Regions from separate parts of the Homo sapiens genome. Here region 2 is linked to region 1. Evidence: promoter capture Hi-C in 16 types of primary human blood cells and fetal thymus (Javierre and others, 2016). All regions are on one chromosome and are shown on one strand. The core of a region is centred on a gene start or on the middle of the fragment in contact, and the rest is flanking DNA. Distances in the headings are between cores, read along the strand shown. Region 1 holds the start of IFTAP (intraflagellar transport associated protein). Region 2 holds the start of PRR5L (proline rich 5 like).

Region 1 (4,757 bases), core at 2,258-4,757:
TGTTAGTCACAAGTGGATTTGGTGTCTAGATAGGGAAGGGATGAGTAGAATTTGGAAAATGTGGGGCTTTCTGTTCTCTGGCTGCTTCAGGGATTTAATTATTAGGCCTTTAGAGCACTATTATTAATCTTCGTACATAAATCGTTCTCTGGCCTAAGACAGGAAGGAAGACCTAATCCTGGTTTTACTGCCAGCAGAAATAAAATAATATATGCCTCAAACCTGATTAACAGTGCAAGATACTGTTATTCACACATTAAATGCCTGAAGTTACTTACATGAGGTTACTTGCTACTCTGGAGCAATCAAGAAAACATGGCCAGCACGGATCAGCAAGATTTAATGTTTCACAGTACAGTATCTTTCTTTGGAAAAGAAAAAGTCAGTTCAGATATTAGGAACTATAAACCCAGACCTCATACTATGAGTCCTTTCATTATACTCAACTATGCCCTAGCATCAGAGAGAATAAATGAAAATCTCCCTGCTGAAGAATGTTAGCATGGGGTTGGGAAAATTGTATATATTTATTGGTCCTATATTTCTGTCCTTTACAAAGAATCTTTAATGTGTTGACCTTGAAGCCTCCCTCAGCTGAAGAACAGGATCTTATTCTTTTAAATCTGCCTGTTTTTATGTAGCCTATTAAAAGGAAAAGACTTCAGTAGGTTATTTTAGATATAGTATAATCATTTAAAAACTCTTTTTAAAAACCAAGGTGTGACTAATACAGTCATATTGAAACTATGGAAGAGATACAATGGTCTACTCCAGTGAAAAATATATTCAAGTTGATAAAGCAAAATTTCAAAAACCAAATGTGGCAAAATCATGTGAAAACACTTTCAATGTTCCTGTTTATTCTTTAAATGCATACATCATCTGGTTAAAGTGAGTAATCTAAAAATTAATTACTCACACTTGAACCATGTTACAAGAGGAGGTAATTCATCTTAGCAATAAGAAACTTTACCACTGTTTTTAGGGCCTTGAAATTATGAAATGAGCCAAAAGCAGAGCATCAAAGGGAAAACAGGTCAAAAGCCCTGTTTCAAAAATCTTTAGGGGCCTAGACTAAGCTACAAAAATGGACAATCCTCCTTATGTCTTGCCCAAGAAAATGTTTCTGTGTAATCTACAATAATCATGTTTTCACTTACGAGAAGCCACAATTCCTACAGCAACCTTAAAATGAAACCAAGAGGCGACAATAAAAACATTGCTTTAAAACAACTGTTCTTGAAAAATCCCTTTGGATCTGGAATCCATTACCACTGTATGGCTTGCCTTGTATCTCAATAACAGTCATCACAGGTGTTTGAAACAAGCAGGCCTTGGCTTTGGTGTTCCCCCCACCCAAAATGGGACAACTCTCTGATCATAATCACTCAGGCTGAGTGTAATCACCTACAGTTTTCTGAAGTGAGGGTCAATAATGTCTCCTTTTAGTTTCTATGAATAGCATTTTTCATAGTTGCTCAGATGCCTTCCCTCATGTAGGCTTGGGTAGGCCATGATATAAATAAAACACTGCCTAGATTATTTTATAAGCAGGGCAGTTTGCTGAATATACAACTGAGGGAGACAGGCTTGTTTTCATAACTTTGATAATAATCCTTCTGAGACACCATTTCCTCACCTGCTTTAATAACCCACCAGATAATTGTTGAAAGATCACCCCCTTACGAGTCTCCCAAGTAGACTGAAAATAATAACTACAAGAGATTATTTAGCAGTAAATTACAGCTGATCTACAGAAGTTCTTTAAAGCAAAAAAAAAAAAAAACAAAAAAAAAACACTACCATCTCATTAGAGTGACCAGAGATTCTAAATAGTCCAAGGAATCTTTGCAGGAGGAATAAAGATAAATTAGATAAATTATAGTATCAATTAACATTTATTGAGTGTTTATGTGCCAGGCACTGTTCTATGTGATTTACACGTGCTATCCCATTTATTTCTCAAAACAGCCCAGTGAATATATACCAAGATTATCCCCAGTTAGACAAAGGGTGACAAGAAGAATAAAATATTAACTATCTTCTGTTAATAAATTAACTACTACCAGCACCCTCATCATATATGTTTATCCAATTCTTTTAGTTCAAATGTTTATCTGTCTATACCCACTGACCTGATTCCCATATCCTAAAGCCCCTTCTCATCCTCTCCAACCTTATCAACTGCCATTACTGGCAGGTGCGTATGCACTAGACCTTATTTTTGGTAAATTTTAAAATAATCATAACTATCGTCTACTATATGCAAATCCCTGTTCTAAGTACTTTACGTATATTCAACTATTAATCATAACTGACATCAATATATGAGGTTGGTAAAATTATTATCTCAGTTTTCAGATGAGGAAACTGAGGCACACAGAGGTTACATAACTTGCCCAAAGTCATGTAGTTAGTGGCAGAGCCAGGATTTGAATCCAGCCAGTAAGCATTCAGAGTCCACACTCAGCCATTGTTTATACTGCTTTTGAAGCATATTAAGAATTAACTCTTAAAAGTCAAGAAATCTGTGCTATGTTTTGTTTCCTTTAACATTTGGTGCACAGGACATCACACTGCAAACACGGAGTGTATTCCACAACTCTCTAAGGTAAACAATAATAAAATAGAAATTTATCAAGCTTCCTTCATCTAGTAAATATTCTTTTTGTTGTAACACAAGTATGAAATTCTGAATAATTCAAACACTTCTATGCTTAGTCCCTGCTTACTTACTACAGAATTATTAAAGAATTACCCAAAAGTTCTTGGACTGGAAAGATGTGAAAAAGCCACTAACTCTATTTTCCTAGAATGAAGATGAAAAGAAGATGTGTTTAGGAACCTTCTCTGCTTCCCTAAAAGAACCCTAAAAACAGGAGTAAAAACAGTGAAGAAAACAAAGGACCTTCAAAGTGCACTCGTTAAAACCTAATAACTGTATTTCTATTACTAAATGTAGAAGTGGTAAACATCTTTAACAGGCAATGTCTCCCCTGCACTCTAGGGATTCAAAGATCCATCTTTCGGTTCTGTAAGACAGTCACGGCTTTTGTAACCTCGGTGCCCCCTTCAACCTCCCGCCCCAAGCACCTCCAGGGTCGTCAGGGGTGTAGTTTTGAGTCGCGCTCCTAAGCATCCAGACAGGCAGGACACCGTAACGACATCTCTGCCGGGAGTCCCTTCAGACTGCGGTCTCCAGGTAACCGCACTCCAACAGAAGCAGTTGTGCTTCCTATCGGGTCACCTGTTCAAAAGTCCCCAGGAGAGGCTCCAGCAATACCAGGGTAGCGGTTTGCCCGACACCGCTCCGGGCGCTGCAGCCTTCCGGCAACCCGGACGTTGGGTCGGTGTCAGCCACTCTCACCTCCCATTCCCTAGTTTTCCTCCTTTGCTCCCGTCTAGTCACTTCGCACCTTCGGCTAGTCTTTATTCACAGACACATTCCAGGAGTCCCCTCTCCCAGAGCAACAAAGACAGATTTCCAAAGCTACACATCCCAGAGAGAACGGATTCTTGGGAAATGTGGTTCTTTCAGCTGACGCATGGTGACTCTTTACGGAAAAGGACTACAATTCCCAGAAATCCTAGGGAGCATATAGTCCGTGGCTAAAACATGTCCCAGCTCCTTGGATGGAATGGCAGTAAAGGTTCTGTGGCTCTTTACTGACCTAACTCCTTGGATTTTCCTCATTCAGTCCCACTGCAAGCGTGTGGGAGGACTTAAAAAAATGCTATTCACATGTGAAGGAATCTAAATACGATGATTATATGAAGCGATCTCTAAGTCATTTTATTTTATAATTCTTTCAGACAAAAATCTACGTACCATCAGAAACTATGTCTCTGCAGATGGTAACAGTCAGTAATAACATAGCCTTAATTCAGCCAGGCTTCTCACTGATGAATTTTGATGGACAAGTTTTCTTCTTTGGACAAAAAGGCTGGCCCAAAAGATCCTGCCCCACTGGAGTTTTCCATCTGGATGTAAAGCATAACCATGTCAAACTGAAGCCTACAATTTTCTCTAAGGATTCCTGCTACCTCCCTCCTCTTCGCTACCCAGCCACTTGCACATTCAAAGGCAGCTTGGAGTCTGAAAAGCATCAATACATCATCCATGGAGGGAAAACACCAAACAATGAGGTTTCAGATAAGATTTATGTCATGTCTATTGTTTGCAAGAACAACAAAAAGGTTACTTTTCGCTGCACAGAGAAAGACTTGGTAGGAGATGTTCCTGAAGCCAGATATGGTCATTCCATTAATGTGGTGTACAGCCGAGGGAAAAGTATGGGTGTTCTCTTTGGAGGACGCTCATACATGCCTTCTACCCACAGAACCACAGAAAAATGGAATAGTGTAGCTGACTGCCTGCCCTGTGTTTTCCTGGTGGATTTTGAATTTGGGTGTGCTACATCATACATTCTTCCAGAACTTCAGGATGGGCTATCTTTTCATGTCTCTATTGCCAAAAATGACACCATCTATATTTTAGGAGGACATTCACTTGCCAATAATATCCGGCCTGCCAACCTGTACAGAATAAGGGTTGATCTTCCCCTGGGTAGCCCAGCTGTGAATTGCACAGTCTTGCCAGGAGGAATCTCTGTCTCCAGTGCAATCCTGACTCAAACTAACAATGATGAATTTGTTATTGTTGGTGGCTATCAGCTTGAAAATCAAAAAAGAATGATCTGCAACATCATCTCTTTAGAGGACAACAAGATAGAAATTCGTGAGATGGAGACCCCAGA
Region 2 (7,297 bases), core at 4,528-7,027, 300 kb after region 1:
TCAGATCAGCAGCAGCATTAGATTCTCATAGGAGCACAAACCCTATTGTGAACTGCGCATGTGAGGGGTCTAGTTTGCATGCTCCTTATGAGAATCTAATGCCTGATGATCTGTCACTGGTTCCCATCACCCCCATATGGGACTGTCTAATTGGAGGAAAACAAGTTTAGGGCTCCCACTGATTCTACACTGTGGTGAATTGTGTAATTATTTCATTATATATTACAATGTAATAATAATATAAATAAGGTTCTCAATAAATGTAATGCACTTGAATCATCCTGAAACCATCCCTACCCTGGTCTGTGGAAAAAAGTGTCATCTACAAAACTGGTCTCTGGTACCAAAAAAATTGGGGACTGCTGGTTTAAGCCCCTCAGTCTGTGATATTTTGTCATGGCAGTCCCAGCAAACTAATACGGCACTGCTTAGATGCCAGGGAACTAAGGAAGGAGTCTTATTAGGCAACCAGCTTCAAGGGACCAGCAACTCAGAGATCCCCAAAGATGAGAAATAATGGTGCTCTCTGAAGTATCCACAAGATTGTGCCTAGAGAGAAAGAACTAGGTTTACACACCCACCAGAACCTGCCACTGAAATGCCAGCTTGCCACAGCATTAACCAAGTACGGACTTCCAGCTCCTTTCCTGCCTCTTCTCTTTTCCCCTTCCCCCTGCCAGGAGTCAGAATCATCAGTAAGCCAGAGGAGAGAAGGATGGAAGCTTAACGTGGGAAATGAGAAGCCAACCACAGACCCCCTTTCCAAGCTGCAGGCCCCACTGGAGGAGGGAGAAAAGTCTCCACTGGGAACCAAATTCAAAGATCTGGCTGATTCCCTGGGACTGGACATCCCAATTGCTGAATGAGGCTGTGCTGGAACTAAAAGCGACTTAAGAACTTTTGATTCCTGAAGGGGGCCCATAAGAGTTGTGGACCTACCTTAATTTTCATCCCAGGGCAAGGGAAGAGGGAGGACCTGCTGAAAAAAATTAGGGACAATGATAGGCAAAAATAAAGTTTGCTTCCATAATATACCATGAGTCCTGTGTATTTGACGTATGTTCTCTTACATATGAGGCAACTTAGCCTGGTCTCTGGCCAAAAAAGAGATACCACTCATTGAGCAATTCTTACCCTTTCAAATTCCTTCACTGTCGTCATTGAGCAATTCCATCTTCTTCAAGCAAGACAAAAGCTGATGCCAATAGAAAAATCATTTAAAATAAACAAACGAAAAAATTCCTTAAGCTGTCAACTTGGGTGCAGATGTTCTATGAAGCCAGAAACTGAATGTCACCCTCTATACACCATGACCTAGAGAAGCAGAATAACTCCAGACCAGCAGGGCTGGGCGGGTCTAAGATTCCCATACTACTTAAGAGAAAACTGAATTCAAATCCAGGCTCTGCCATTTAACAACTGTGTGACCCCGGGTGAATGACTTAAATTATCCGTACTTCAATTTCCTCATCCATAAAATAGAGATCATAAAGTATCTATCTGATGAAATAGCTGCAAAACAGTTAGAATGCTGCCTGGCACAGGGCAAAGGACTCACAATACACATAGCTATCATCATATATCATTGCCTCTCAAAGTGAAATATTGTGATGACCTTGGTTTATTAGCAGGATGTTGTAAAAAAAAATGCTTTACAAGGGGCATGATGACGAAAAGCGCAGATTCTAGAACCCGACTCCCTGGGTTTGAAAGAAGCAAGAATCTGAGGCATGTTGTATAAGGGTTTGCTATCATTACTATTCATTCAATGAGAGACATACAGTAATAGGTATACATATGCAATACATAGAGAAAGAGCTTAGTACTAGCAGCTATTATTAAGGCAACAGCCACCTCAGTAAATCTACATGGGCCATGAAGACCCTGGTCACCCAGAGATATCAGAGGCACTGAACAGGGCCAGACAGACAGAGGGTATTTTTCTAACTGGGAGGCTGCTGAACTTGACCTCTGTTGCTTTTCATTATTTATTTAACAGCAGATGGTGGCTTTCAAGAAAATCGGATGTCTTGAAGCCAGAAACCCATCCTCCTTGGGCTGGATACTCAGCCATCCCCTGCAACCCCACCCCCTAGCCCCAAGCTCTCATTGTCTCTCTTGTGTTACCTGGTCTGGTTTCTTCTTCCAGGGCAGGTCCCACCTTGCTGGGGAGAGGTGAATGACCATGGCCTTCCAGCCTCCCGAGAAGGGGATGTTCCAACGGGCGCAGAGATCTCTGGGCCTGGCTTGCCACTCACTGACCTGGGGCCTGAAGACTGACAGAGAAGCAGGCAGAAAATATAAAAAGCTGATACCCCCTGCAGGAAATCATTGTTTAGCCCATTCCAGACTAAAAAAACAAGTGCAACATTGGAGAAAGGAGGGTAAAGTGTCATTCGGGGCCATTGTTACAGCGGCTGCTCTGTGTGGTGGGGAAACAAAGCAGGCCTGTGTATGTGAGGACAATGCTGTTGTGTTACTAGCTGCTTCTGTGTTACTCCTGGGGACAGGAGGATGAGAAACGAGGCCACAGTGTCTTCCCTGGTGGACTTCACTCATCATAGTAGCCAGGCCAATCAGAGCTGGGAGAGGAATTTTGGACATTTAGCCCATGGCATTATGTAATAAGGGTCAGGGGACGTGCCTTCAGGTGTGACCACCTGCCTCTTTGTTAGTCTTCTATACATGAGAGATCACAAATGTCCCTCTCCTTTTCTCTTACTTGCTTTCAGAAACTTACCCCAAGTTAGAGCTGAAAAGAATGAGACATATCATTTCTCTAAACACAAATGTCATCCACTTCAATGCCTAACTTTTGTGATGGGACATCTGGCTGGGACTAAACCTCAGCCATGCAGCACGTTAGCAGCAGTTGGCAAGACTAGATGAATATTATAAAGCTTGCACCCACTGAACCCCCATAATGAACCAGACACTAGGTCATGAGCAACCTTGCAAAATGACCTCATTCGCTCCTGACTTCAAATTCTGACTCTGCAACTATTACCCATGGACTGTGAGCAAGTGTTTTCTCTGGGTGTTAGTTTTCCCATCTGTAAACCGGGATTATGATTGGGTTCCTAGGAGGATTAAATGAATTAATATATGCAAAACTCTTAGAACAGTGGCTGGCCCATAAAAGTGATCAAGAACCACAAATCACAAATTAGATGCCCACATTACACCTGAAACTTGCTTGTACTCATGAGGAGATGGTATGGGGATGGCTGGAAAGCCAGGATCCCAAGTGTCTGTATTTAGCCCTGTTACCTACTATGGCCTAAGTTCACCCTGTTAGGTCCCTGAAGGAATTGGGCACTAATAAATATTCTCAAGTATGAGACAGGTGACAAATGTGTGGAGAGGGCCCACTGTGATGCAACAGTGTGTGGCGGGAACTGTGGGGATTTGAAAGCTCACACCAGTCTTCAGAGGGCAGCCAGGGCTCAGCCTCAGCCAAATACTGCAATGCAGAAAGGTGGAAACAGCATGGTTGGGCCTGCACATTTTTAAAGAAAAGCCAGAAGGCTGGATTTTTTATGTCGAGTTTTCCAATTTTGAAACACTGTGGACCAAACACAACATTGTTAATGCAATGTGAGCCCTAGATCATGCAGTTTGTGATGCCTGATCTGGAAATTTCCAGATTTCCAGCATTTCCAAGCCAGTGCAACCCTGCTGACACTCAGAGCTTTTGTCCCCAACTTGCGCTACGGTCTGAGTGTATGCGTCCCCCACAAATTCATATGCTGAAATCTTCACCCCCAGGTGATGGTATTTGGAGGTGGGACCTATGGGGGGTGATTAGGTCATGAGTGTGGAGCCCTCATGAATGGGATTAGTGCCCTTATAAAGAGGCCCAAGAGAGCTCCCTTGCCCACAGCCACCATTTGAGGACACAGTGAGAAGACACCATCTGTGAACCAGGAAACCGTCCTCATCAAACATAGAATCTGCCAATGCCTTGGTCTTGGACTTCCCAGCCTCCAGAACTATGAGCAACACATTTCTGTTGTTGATAAAGCCACCCAGTTTATGGTATTTTGTTATATTAGCCCATATGGACTAAGACGACTGGTGAGCTGATCAGGCCACGTCAAAGCCACAAAGGGGGCATAAAGTCAAAAAGATTGATCAGCCCTTTCCCCCTGCAACCCACCCTCATCTCTGGACTGAGACAAAGGTGAGGAAAAGGGAAACTAGGGGAATAACAGGAGGGTGGCAAGGGCTCTCCTTAAAGGACTGCAGGACCCTGGGCCTAATCCACCTCCTGCAGGCATTCCTCTGACAAAGAAGGCAGCCAGGACTTAGTAGTGAAACCAAAGGGGAGAATAGGAGTTTATTTAAGCTTCCATAACCTTCATCAGTTACCTCAAATGAACCAAAGTAGCGTAAGTGACAAAATGTGTTTGCTATGCAAATGCACCTTAAAAACAAGACTGCTCACAATGAGATACCACTTCATACCCGCTAAGATTGCTATAATCAAAAAGACAGAACCAGTTACAAAATGTGTTTGATATACCAATGCAACTTCAAAACAAGACGGCTCACAATGAGATACTACTTCATACCCACTAGGATCACTATAATCAAAAAGGCAGAGCCAGATGCAGTGGCTCCCATCTGTAATCCCAGCTACTCAGAAGGCTGAGGCAGGAGGATCGTTTGAGGCCAGGAGTTTGAGACCAGCCTGAGCAACATAGCAAACATATGTTTTAGAGACAAAACATATTTTTTGTCTCTAAAACAAATAAAATCAAATTAGCTGGGTATGGTTGTGCATGCTTGTAGTCCCAGCTACTCAGGAGGCTGAAGTGGGAAGATCAGTTGAGCCCAGGAGTTTGAGGCTACAGTGAGCCATGATTACACCACTGTACTCCAGCCTGGGTAAAAGAGCAGAGACCCCCATCTCTCTGTCTCTTTTTTTTTTTAAACAAATGTTGGTGCAGATGTGGAGAAATTGAAACCCTTATACATTGCTTCTGGGGACTGTAAAATGGTGCAGTCACTTTGGAAAATGGTCTTACACTTCCTCAAAAGGTTAAACACAGAGTAATCATATGGCCCAGAAACTCCACTATTCCACTCTTCAGTGTATACTCCAAGAGAAATGAAACACATGTTCACACAAAAACTTTGTACATGATTGCTCATGGCAGCATTACTCACAACAGCTAAAAAGTAGAAACAACTCAAATGTCTACAACTGATGAATGAACAAACTATGGTATATCTGTACAAAAAAATATTATTCAGCAAAAAACGAATGAAGTACCGATACAGGCTATAACATGAACGAACCTTGAAGAAGTTTCTCCTCTTATGCTAAGTAGAGGAAACGAGTACAAAACATATGATATGTGGTCTTTTGTACTCGTTTCCTTTACTTAGTATAAGAGGAGAAACCGTATCATATGATCCAATTCATGGGAAATGTCCAGAAGGCAAAACCATAGAGACAGAAAGCAGATTAGCGATTGCCTAGGGCTGGGTGTGATGGGGAGAATTGGGGGCAGAGGTGGGTGTTGATAGCTAAAGGATATGCTGTTTCTTTTGGGGATGATGAACATGTTCTAAAATTAATTGTGGTGATAGTTGGACAACTCTGTGAGTATACTAAAATTCATCGAATTTTACACTTCAAATGGATAAATTGTATGGTATGTGAATGTTAATTCTATTTCAATAAAGCTACTATAAAAAAACCCTCAATACTAAGATTGCTGCCCTTAATCATTTTCTACTAATAAATTCTGTGTCCATATCCCTTGCTTCATATCTGCCCCACTGGAGAAATCAGGGCAAGTGTTCCAAAAGGCTGGTTTCCCCCAAGGCTCAGGGCTCAAACTTGGGTGACTAACTGGCCTGGTTTGTCCAGAACTGTCCCAGCGCTAGCCCTGAAAGTCCTGCATCCAAGGAAACCCCTCATCCCTGGGAAAACTGGGATGGCCAGTCCCCCTCGTGCAAACCCTTGCCCACAACAGGGGAAAGCTCTGCCCTTTAGCGTTGCCAATGACTAGAACTGAGAATCCACATAAGCAATCCTTCCCCTTTTGGGGTATAAGTCATCCTTGAGCTCCCCCTAATGGCCAAAAGGTATTTTTATTATTGTTCCCATTTTACGGATGATGAAATTGAGGTTCCAAGAGGGGAAGTAATTTGCTAACAGTACACAGGAGTTGGAAACTGAACCTAGGTCTTTTCCCAAAGCCCAAGGTAGCCCTTCCACTCACTCATTATATTGTTTCTCACCATCACCAGACTGATTGTACAGGAACACTCTTAGATTGTTCTTGCTGCCTGAGGAAGGTAGTCAGACATGCAAAGAGAAGAAACACAAATTTACAGCTGTGGGACAACAAGGAGACATGTACAGCTTGGCGGTTAACAGTGCAGAATCTGGAGCCAGACTGGCCATATTTGAATCTGGGCTTTGCCACTACTTAGCTGTGTGACCTCAGACTACTTAATCTGCCTATGTCTGTTTCTCCATATGTAAAATGGAAACAATACAGTGTGTGTGCTTATATATGTATATGTACTTATGTGTGTGTGTACATATGTGTGTGTATGTATATACATACGTATATATATAATATCATAGGATAGGAATGGGAAGTAAATTAATCAGTAAATGTAAGGGCTTAGAACAGAGCCGGGCACATAACAAGTTTATTAAATAAATGAAAGTCAGCACTGATTCCTATATTCAGAATTGGAAAGAAATTAGGTTTGGCCTAATGAAAACCAGGCAATGGGACCAAATCACAGAAATGAACTCCGACATTCTGTTTTGTTCCCACCCATGAAAATGTTTATGGTTTAGAAATTGCTGGACATTCTGCAGACCACAGACAAACCTTTACATGCAACATGGCATTGGCAATCTGGGCAGCCCTACCAAAATGGGATGACATGGTGCCATTCATATCATACCAGCCCGCGAGAGTAAGGAGAGCTGGGAATCCTCCCACTGAAGCAGCTCCTGTCGCTCAGCTCTGCTCTCTGAACTAGATGGGTGTGATGAACACCATTTTACAGAGGTGGAAACTGAGGCCCAGAGAAGTTCAAGAATTTGTACACGGAAAAGTTAATAATGTGTAGAATTAGGATTCCAACTCAGGTTGAATTCTAAAACCCCTATGCTTTGCTGCCACCATGCATTAGTTACTATTGCTGTATAACAAATTACTTCAAAGCTTCATAGCTTAAAACAACAAACATTGATAATCTTAATAGTGTTTGAAGGCCAGAAATCCAGGCGTGGCTTCGCTGGGTGGTGCTGGCTCAGAAT

Evidence for each region. Contacts are between HindIII fragments. The CHiCAGO score rates a contact against its expected background, and 5 or more counts as called.
Region 2: a contact is called between a fragment that was not itself captured here and the fragment with the promoter of IFTAP in region 1, in 2 of 17 cell types (fetal thymus and monocytes). The highest score is 8.6, in fetal thymus.

Annotation. Positions count from the first base shown.
Region 1 is chr11:36,593,252-36,598,008 of GRCh38, reverse strand. IFTAP (intraflagellar transport associated protein) reads right to left here and starts at 3,507. Exons shown (of 6, transcript NM_138787.4): 1 at 3,417-3,507. It overlaps RAG2 (recombination activating 2), which reads left to right. Exons shown (of 2, transcript NM_000536.4): 2 at 3,814-4,757. The coding sequence starts at 3,841. RefSeq lists an enhancer at 3,461-3,600. The HindIII fragment of the contact is 5,310 bases long and covers 2,645-4,757 here.
Region 2 is chr11:36,291,269-36,298,565 of GRCh38, reverse strand. PRR5L (proline rich 5 like) reads right to left here and starts at 2,278. Exons shown (of 9, transcript NM_001160167.2): 1 at 2,128-2,278. The HindIII fragment of the contact is 2,854 bases long and covers 4,351-7,204 here.